Regions from separate parts of the Homo sapiens genome. Here region 1 is linked to region 2. The links are contacts of gene promoters, found by promoter capture Hi-C in blood cells and fetal thymus (Javierre and others, 2016). All regions are on one chromosome and are shown on one strand. Each heading gives the region's core, a stretch centred on a gene start or on the middle of the fragment in contact. The rest is flanking DNA. Distances are from core to core; before and after follow the strand shown.

Evidence for each region. The method cuts DNA at HindIII sites, captures the fragments that hold promoters and counts their contacts. A CHiCAGO score of 5 or more calls a contact.
Region 1: a fragment that was not itself captured here is called in contact with the fragment with the promoter of LINC03051 in region 2 in 5 of 17 cell types (monocytes, M0 macrophages, M2 macrophages and 2 more); the score reaches 11.4 in monocytes.

What each region holds. Positions count from the first base shown.
Region 1 is chr3:116,754,684-116,759,196 of GRCh38, reverse strand. No RefSeq gene overlaps it. Among named protein-coding and RNA genes, the nearest start is that of TUSC7, 47 kb to the right of the region's middle. The HindIII fragment of the contact is 2,172 bases long and covers 223-2,394 here.
Region 2 is chr3:117,996,289-118,000,934 of GRCh38, reverse strand. It overlaps LINC03051 (long intergenic non-protein coding RNA 3051), which reads left to right and starts at 3,356. Exons shown (of 3, transcript NR_182298.1): 1 at 3,356-3,753. RefSeq lists an enhancer at 3,139-3,685. The HindIII fragment of the contact is 6,554 bases long and covers 1-4,646 here.

The DNA.
Region 1 (4,513 bases), core at 59-2,558, 1.2 Mb after region 2:
TGGGTAGAGTTTATTAAAATTGAAATAATTTCAAGTCTAACTGTTTTTGCTAATGTGAGTCACATATTTCTAATTGAATCCACTGACCTGGCCACACAGACAGGTCAGCAAATGAAAAGGAAGTTAGCGTTTGGTAACTGCTTAGAGAATCATATTCTACTGTGCCAGAAAAATGTGAGTATCATTGACATATGGTTTATCTTTTAATTCTTACAACAAGCTTAGAGTACCTATTGTTTTATTTCCCAAGATCAGGAATCCAAGGCTCTGAGAAATTAACTGACTCAAGGTAATACAAATAGTAAGTGGAAAACACATGTCTTCAATCCAATAAGTAGAGACTTGTCATTGAAACTTGGGTCAGTATCATGTGCTTATTTCACATTGCATGCCTGTATCAAAACACCTCATGTACCCCATAAATACATACCTACAATGTACCCACAAAATTTAAAAAGAAATTAATGAAAAGCATAAATAAATTCTGAATCCCCAACCCATAAATTTTATTCTAGTTAGTGAAATAAGAAAAAAAAATCCTACATATATACAGTGAGCAAGCACAACGAAAATAGAGAATGGTGCTAAATTATTCATACTAGACAACTGCATTCTAGACTTTCAGAGAAGAATGGTGTGTGTGTGTGTGTGTGTGTGTGTGTGTGTGTGTGTGTGTGTGTGTGTGAAGCATTATCCTTGGTACTCACTTCATTAGCCATAATCATGCATAAGTCACAAGGATATAGGAAATCAAAGTTCGTTAAAAACGCACACTGGCTGCAACTAACCATATGTCCAGTAGAGGGAGCCTACATATCACAATTGAGAGTCCGGCCACAGCAGGTCCAAAATCCTGTTTTTGAAGGGAGCCCTGAGAGATCCGGGAAAACAAATTATCTTCAAGAGTATTTTGGAGGAAGAATCGCTCTGATTTCAAAGAAGCTCACTACCTATATGCAAAGAAAAATGCATATTATTTGCTCATTTCCTGAAGTCACGGAAATCCAGTGGAGTGTCAGATGTTGCCTCTGATTCATTGTATTTTTCAAAGGCTAGAAATGGTCAGTGTTGTCTTGGCCATTGTTGAGGCATTTTCTCCCCAGGCTGTGCTGTGGCATCTCCTGGCCTCATTAATATAGTGGCTGATGGTACCTACTAACCTTCAATGGGTCGCCTCCTACCTATTCTCATTTCATTAGCTTTTTGAAGGACAGGGTAGACTAGATCAAGAAAAGAGATAAAAAGAAATAGTACATATTCACACTTATGTAATTACATCCCCTTCCATGGAAACTTGGGAATAAAGAGGTATTTCAAGGTCATGTAGAAAAAGTAAACCTTAGTTTATTATTTTTAGATTCGTTTTACCTAACACATTCTCTGATAACTGAAGGGGGGAGAGAGGGAAATGGAGAGAGAATGCATTTTTTTAGCCTGCCTTTAAAGGTATTTATTATTATTATTATCTATATTTATTTTTAAAGTTATTCTCATAAAATCTATTTCCTTATAGCAAGCCCCCATTTTTTCCTCTGATTTTTAAGAAATTTTTCTCTCTATTTCTCTCTTCCACATTTTCCTCTCTTTCATTTTCTTTCCCTTCTCCTCTATAGTATCTATTATTTCTCCTCTTTTAAAAACTGTGTCATGTTCCCCGAGGCATTCTTCCATTTCACACACGGATTAACTTAGTCAGCTTTTTTACACAAGCTGCCAGTCTTCTGAAAGTATCCCCATTATACTGCATCAGTTCCATATGATTTGAAAAACAGTGTGAGGAGGACATACCATACCCAAATCCCACTTCTCATTCTAAAGAAGGTGTACTCTGTCTAAAAGGAAGAAGTAGCTGGATCCAAAGGCTTCTGGGCTCAGCTGGGAGACCAAATGATGGCTGTGACATTTATCTTACAAAGTGGGAAAACTCATGGAACCAAGTGGGAAACAGACACATTGACGCTGGGATTTTAAGTGCATGAACCAGGAGAGGAAGAGACAGTAGAACAATTAAGGGCAAAAGAGGGTAAGAATGTAGGTCTGGTTGTTACTGGGGAAAAGAAATGCTGGTGGTAAGGTTAAAGCTGGTGTAAGAGTGCTAACTCTAACTAATTGTGTTACTTGGGTTAGATCACTTAACAATTCTCCAAACCTCATTTTCCCTATCTATATAATAGGAATAAAAATTTTCACATCCACATGTTTGCCACGAGAATAAAATGAGCAATAGATAGAAAGATGCATATTAAAGAACTTAAATGTGACTAAGAATGTAGTTTTGGAAAATGCCGTAATGAGGTAGGGAGGGCATCGGCTTTGTAATCTGAGATTCTGGTCTCTGCTACTTCACTTTCCAGACATTTAACCTCGGCAGAGCTTAGAGGAAGATGCAAAGCTTTTAAACCCAAGTTATGCTTCTGACCTGCTGTGTGATCTTGGATAAGTCATATAAACTTTTGAATTTCTATCTCTGGAATAGAAATTATTTGGAAAATGAGCATAAGTAGTTTCTATTTTAAAGTTGATGAGACTGAATATGATGATCTATGTTGAAGAGCACTGCAGTCAGAGAGGCTCTTTGTCACCTCTTCTATTTTCCTAGCACCATAAAGCCTTTTTGCCCCTCTTGCTAGGGTCTCAATTGATTTAACTCTCCTAACTTCAACCAGGCATTCAGCATGCTCCTTGCTGTAATAAGAACTTTCCAAAAATACAGTCTTTGTTCTAGCCATTGTTTAGTTTATTGTTCCTTCATCGATTTTTTGCTGTATGCAATGTACTAGTACCCAAGCTTGGAGCAAAATCACCTGTCACGTACTACTCTCCTGGCCTGACTCATATTATATCCTGGAGGAAGACACAAATGCTATTACACCCCTGGCTCATGTAAAATCCTTCTAGCCCCACTTCCAAAGAGCACCCTTACTTTATCTCTAATAAATGCTCTAGGACTCTCACTGCAAAGGCTACTGCAGAACTTCCTTCTCCATGTCCCAATAAGCACTTTTAATTGATCTTGATTCCCACTTCACTGAAACAATAGAAGCCATCTGGTGTGACCACCTCCTCTTTACAAAGCTTTGCCACTTTTGTTGCCAAAAATACATGCTTTCCTATTCTCATCTTAATCTTTGACCATTTCTTCTCTTTCTCCTTTGTCTTCTGGACATTCCTGAAGACTTAGTCATATGTGCTTCTAGTCTTCTAGCTTTTCTCAAATGTTGTATGTAGTAAATACATCCGTTCCTGTAGAGTTAACAATCACTTTTGTCCACATGAGTTAAAGTCAGTATCTTTGGTTTGCTCTCTTTTACAAGCTCCAGTTTTTCATATCCAGCTGCCCTCTGGACATTTCAAGATTACTCTGTGTTGGTTAGAACATGGTATGGAAAAACAAAAAATGCATTACCCCTTTCTTTGAAAGTGTATTATTTTTTCCAGTGCCACTATAACAAATTTAGCAGATTAAGACAACATAATTATATTAGCTCACAGTTTTGTAGGTAAGAAAGTCAACACAGCGTGGTTGGATTCTCTGCTCAGAGTCTTAGCAAACTATAATCAACGTATCTGCTGGGCTGTGGTTCTCATCTGGGGCTTGTGAGCCTCTTTCAATCTCACTGGGTAGAATAATCATTTTCTTCTCAGGCTTTCCATGTGACCCTTTTTATGTTCAAGTCAGCAATGGTGGGTAGAGCCCATCTCATGCTTCCAATCTCTCTGATGTCCTTTTCTGCTCTTAAAGATTCATTTGCTTACATTAGCCCTAACTGGGTAATCCAGGATAATCTCCTTATTTTAAGATCAATTTACTAGTAATATTAATTATTAAAACATTGCCATTAAAAGTAATGGCAAAAATCGCAATTACTTTTGCACCAAACTAATACAGTTTCAAAGTCCCTTTTGCCATACAAAGTAATACAGTCACAATCCTGAAGATCAGAATGTGGAATATGATTGAGGGTCATAATTTTTCCTACCAAACACATTACTGAAGACACATCTGCCACAGAAGACCAGAGCTGAAAGAAATATTAGGGACCACCTTGTCCAATCTATTTTCTAGGTGAGGAAAATTGAGATCCAGTTAGTAAATAGACATCTCAAGGTTACCTGCCATTTAGTGACAACATTGGTGCTCTTTTTGCTCCTTCTCAAGTGCAGCACTTGCCGTACTTTCATTTATTCTCATTAATTTCATTTCTTAAAAACCTTGCCATTTTTATTTATCCTGTTGAAGTTATATTTAATCATGAGTCTTCCATCTATTGTACCAACTATCTAACTAAGTTTCGAGTTTTTATTGACTAAAACTGCTAATAAAAATCTTAACAAAAGATAATAAAAATATTCATGGAGATCTGAATGAAGCAACTGGAGGGAAATTAGAAGGCAGCATGTGAATAGTAGTACATATGTACATATAAGTACGTGTACAATTACATACACAAAGAGAATGTAGAATGAAGAGTGTTTAGTTGACAAAAAAATGAGTCTTAAACATCTCCCTTGA
Region 2 (4,646 bases), core at 2,107-4,606:
TACCTGAACTAAAGTGAAGGGCGTGGGCAGAAATAACATGGGATACATTCATTCGCTGAAAAAAAATGAATATTTATGCAAACGGTCTCTAAGCATATATTACATCTAAGAAAACTTTGATATCTGGACAATTGATATATGAATGCATAAGCTCCCTCTGACCACACGCAAACAAGTAATTATTCTACTGCTAGCTATACTCGAGAAATGTCTGCCCATCTAGCACTCTGCTAGGCTCTGTGATTAATACATGATAATTGGCAGCGGTGTTTACAAATCAATTTGGAAAATCATGACAAAGACATAGAAATTAATTAGGATTGATTATTTAAAGTAATACAGAAACAAACAGAAAGATATTATAGCCAGTAAGTATATATTGCAGGAAAATATCTAATTTAGGCATCAAGAACAATTTTGAAAGAATTTTAAAGAATTGTTGGAAGTCATTCTAAGTATAATGTAGGGAGATCACAAAGTCTGATGCAACACATTTTGTGGCTCTGGCAAATCCAAATATAAACTACAAGATTTAGCAAGTCATGCGATTTCCTTGAAACTCAGTTTTCTTATCTTATAATGAGGTTTGGACTAGACAAGTTGTACTCCATGGGCGTGGCTGGGGTGGGGGGAAATTAGTTTCCCAGGCAACATATAGGATTTCTGGAGATATTTTTGTTTGTCATACTTTGAGGAGAGGGGTCTGCTAGTGGCATGTAGTGGGTAGAGGTCAAGGACACTGCTCAACATCTTGCAATAAAAAGGACAGCCCCATACAACAAAGAATTATCTGGGCCAAAATGTCAAGGGTGCTGAGGCTGAGAAACTGGACTACATGAGCAAACAATTTCTCACAACTCTTAACACTTTGTGGTTCTTATAGAATGATTTTTCAATCATTAGAGGGCAAAAGAATCACCTAGATATACTAGTAAAATGCAGATTCCTGGACTCCAACATCCAAATATATTAATAGACTAGGTTGTGTGTATGACTAAGTAATCTGGAATTTTAACATGTACACTGTGATTCTATTGCATCTGGGTTCTTAAATTGATTGTATTTTGAGAAACCTTACTAAGACATGCATTAACATTGAAGAAATCAAGGTTGATCCTTGAAAAACAATACCACTAGACATTATTTATTAAGTACTTCATGAGTTATACTCACAAAAGTCCTTTGAGACTTTTGCAAGGTCTCTCCATTTGTTAAAGGCATGGTAGGACTTGAATCCATCTAGTTCTAGATTCAAAGTCTATGCTCTGGCCACTTGCAAATTGCCTCCTGAGAATGGAACAGACTTGGCAAGACAAACAAGCAGCAGATAAAGGAAGTGCATGGGGAAAAAAGAAGACTGAGCAATCTAGAAGAAAGTGTCTCCATTGGGGATTGAAAAAAAAATAAATTGTTAAAGGTAAGATAAGAAATTTCAGAAGACCTTACATTTTAAAAATGAAGAATCTGAATTCTGTCTGGTAGGTTAGTGTTTTTCAGCCCTGGTTGCAGATTAGGATGGCCTGAGATCTTTAAAATACTCCGGATGCTAGGGCTGCAACCCAAAAATTGTGATCTAATTGGTTTGGGGTGGGATGATGCGTCAGCAAAAGTCCTCAGGTGATTCTAGTATGGTTCTAGAAGACCATAAGGAGCAGCTATAACTCATAAGCAGGTGAGAGTCTTGAAGAAACTGTTAACAAGATTAACCTGGTGGTAACGTATAAACTAGATTAGAGCAGTGAATGGAGGAAAGGGATCAGGTAGAAGGCTATTGTAGAAATCTAGGGGTGTGGCAATAAAGACCCATACTAGAGAGATGGATCAGGAATGCTGCTAGAGTCAGGAGACCTCCTTCAGGTCTGCTAATGTTGCTTTCACTGGCCTATCGTATGTCATAAGAAAAGTCACTTAACTTGTCTTTGTCTGCATTTCCCACTAATGCTCGAAGAGCTAACATAGCCCTTGAACATATCACAGCATTAGAGATAATTAAAAGTATTTCAGAAAGTATAATGCACAACACGTGTTTATTATGAAAAAGGTGGCAGTAAAACTGAAAAAAAAACATAGAGACATCTTAGACACATTTACACATTGTCGTGGTGAGACTGATGATCAACTGAAATTGGAGAAGAGAGAATTAAATATACTTCTAAAAGTTCTTGAAGCCTGTGAAACAGGGAAGTTGGAAAAGGGGAATAATTCCTGAAGAAAATCACGTGGGTATAGATAAGAAGTTCTCAACTGGGTCAGTTTTTCCCTCCAGGGGGCATTTGGCAATGCCTGGAGATGTTTTTGGTTGTCATAACTAGGAGGATGAGGGTTGTGCTACTGTCAGCTGGTGGACAGAAGCTAGGGATGTTGCTATAAATCCTATAGTGCACAAGACAGCCCCACACAGTAAAGAATTATCTGGTACAGTATGTCAGTAGTGCCAAGGTGGAGAAACCTAGCATAGATATTACAAACAGTTGGAAGGGACCAATATTCATTATCATGTAAATACATGGATGAATAAAATGAAATTCAGAGATTGAATGACTTAGTTAAGGTCCCCAACGAGTGGAGGCCACAGTAACAGAACTGAAATCCAGCTTTCCTAACTACTAGTCAGTGCTCTTCAGAGCGGCCCCATCTGCCTACTCACCCAACTCAGCCCTGGCCCTGAGTCATCCAGTTTGAGATGCTTGGTACCCAGCTGGGAAGTCTAAGCTGAGGGCTAAGCACGAGGTTAGTGGTGGAGGTTTCCATCCTCGTGTAGCTGTAATAGACCTTTTATTTCCAAGTAACTTAAAGAAATTATAACAGAAGATATAAACCAAGAAGTGCAGAGGAACCCAGAGGGCTCTTGGAGGGAAGGTCAGAAGTGCCAGAATTGTTTTGACCCAGTGACTTTGAAATCAAATAAAAAGGAATGGCACACGCTGTGAAGCGCAGCATCAAAATCAAGTAGGATGAGGCTTCAAAAGGCCATTGGACTTTTTGGTGGAGGTCATGGTGACATTTGGAGAAAAATTTCCATAGAGTTGTTAGGAAAGCACTGGAGATTTCTGAGAGGGAGAGGAGCAATGAGGTGATGAAGATGTGCGGCTAGCATGTTCCAAGAGCTTCCTCGTGAAAAGGAGAAATTCAGGACTTATGGGACAGCAAGGTCAAGTCAAGGATTTAAGAAGGCAAGAGCTTCACCTGTGTTTGCTGAGAGCAGAGGGGACTTTGGCGGCGTTGGATAGACTTGGCACAGACACACAGCGAAGAAGAGCCGCGGCGATGCCGTTCTGTGAGCACTAGATGGCAGTAGCGGGGCCCTTTCGGCTCGGTTCGCGGTCCTATAAGGCGCTGCTTGTTTAAGTACATCGCATTTAGTTGAAGCTGCAGGGGAGTGAGGGAGAGGAGGATAGGAAGCAGGAAAGCGGGAGAGCTCGAGGGACAAGGGGGCTCGGTGTGTTTACACCAGGCACGGGCTACGAGCGTCCATCCCGGCCCCTGGCTTGCGCTCCCGAAGAGGAGAGCAAGGCTGTTCTGGGATCCGGCCGTCGTGCGGCAAGAGGCTTGTCTGTCCGGGTTGCCGGAACCAGGAGAACCCAGAGGGAAACCGAGGGAAAGGAGCGGCGCGTTTTACTAGAGAGAGCGCGAGCGGAAGAGGCGAGAGCAGGAGCGCGCGAGGGAGCATCGAGCGCAGCGGAGACATGAGGACCTACTGGCTGCACAGCGTCTGGGTGCTGGGCTTTTTCCTGTCCCTCTTCTCATTGCAAGGTAGGGGGAGGATTCCCTGACCCCTTGCGCCCCCTCCTCCCTGCCGCCGGGCTCCGGGGTGGTCGGTGGAGTAAGAAGCGCTCCGGTTCTGGATGGAACAGGGTTTATTTACAAGTCCTGCGGTGCGCTCCCTGCCCTGCCAGCTCTGCGCCCAGGCTGGGTCCTGAGGCGTGCGGGATTGTGCGGACAGACTTGCTGCAACATCGGTGTTGATGGGGAAAGAAGCCAGGGCTTGTGTGTGTGTGTGTGTGTGTGTGTGTGTGTGTGTGTGTGTGCGCGCGCGCGTGTGAACGGGGGGCAGGATAGAGCGGCGTGTTTTGTGTGTGTGTGTGTGTGTGTGTGTGTGTGTGTGTGTGTGTCTTGGTGGGGTGGGGGCTTTTGCGCGAGGTGGTGGCGACGGAGCTGGGGTTGCTCCTCTGTAAACTCCAAGAGCCGCGGTGGTGTTCGCTATCCCCGTGTCCCCGGTGCTGATATCACTGCATTCCTCCTCTTTCAGGAGGGAATTGGCATTAAGTTTAGGAGGCTAGGTATCCGCTTGGCACCTGGTACTTGTATCTCTCTGCAAAATAGCCCCACCAGATTCTTCTGCCCCGAGATGGAGGAGGGATGCGGGAGGGAAGGGAACGGTGAGTGGGGTGGGGGGAGGGGGACACGGGGAGGGGGGGAGGAGGAGAAGAGGGAGGGAGGAAGAGAGTGGGGTGGGGGAGAGAGAGAGAGAGAGAGAGAGAATGAATACGAGAATTCACGGGTAATCGCTGCGCTGGCTCATAATGGTCAATGTATTTCATGCTTGCAGGACAAAATTGCTAGCGCTGGGTGTTTACTTTGAAGGGATTGTAGGTTTCTATGTTTTGGGGAGGTTGTAAAATAAATTCATGAAGGTTAAAAATGAA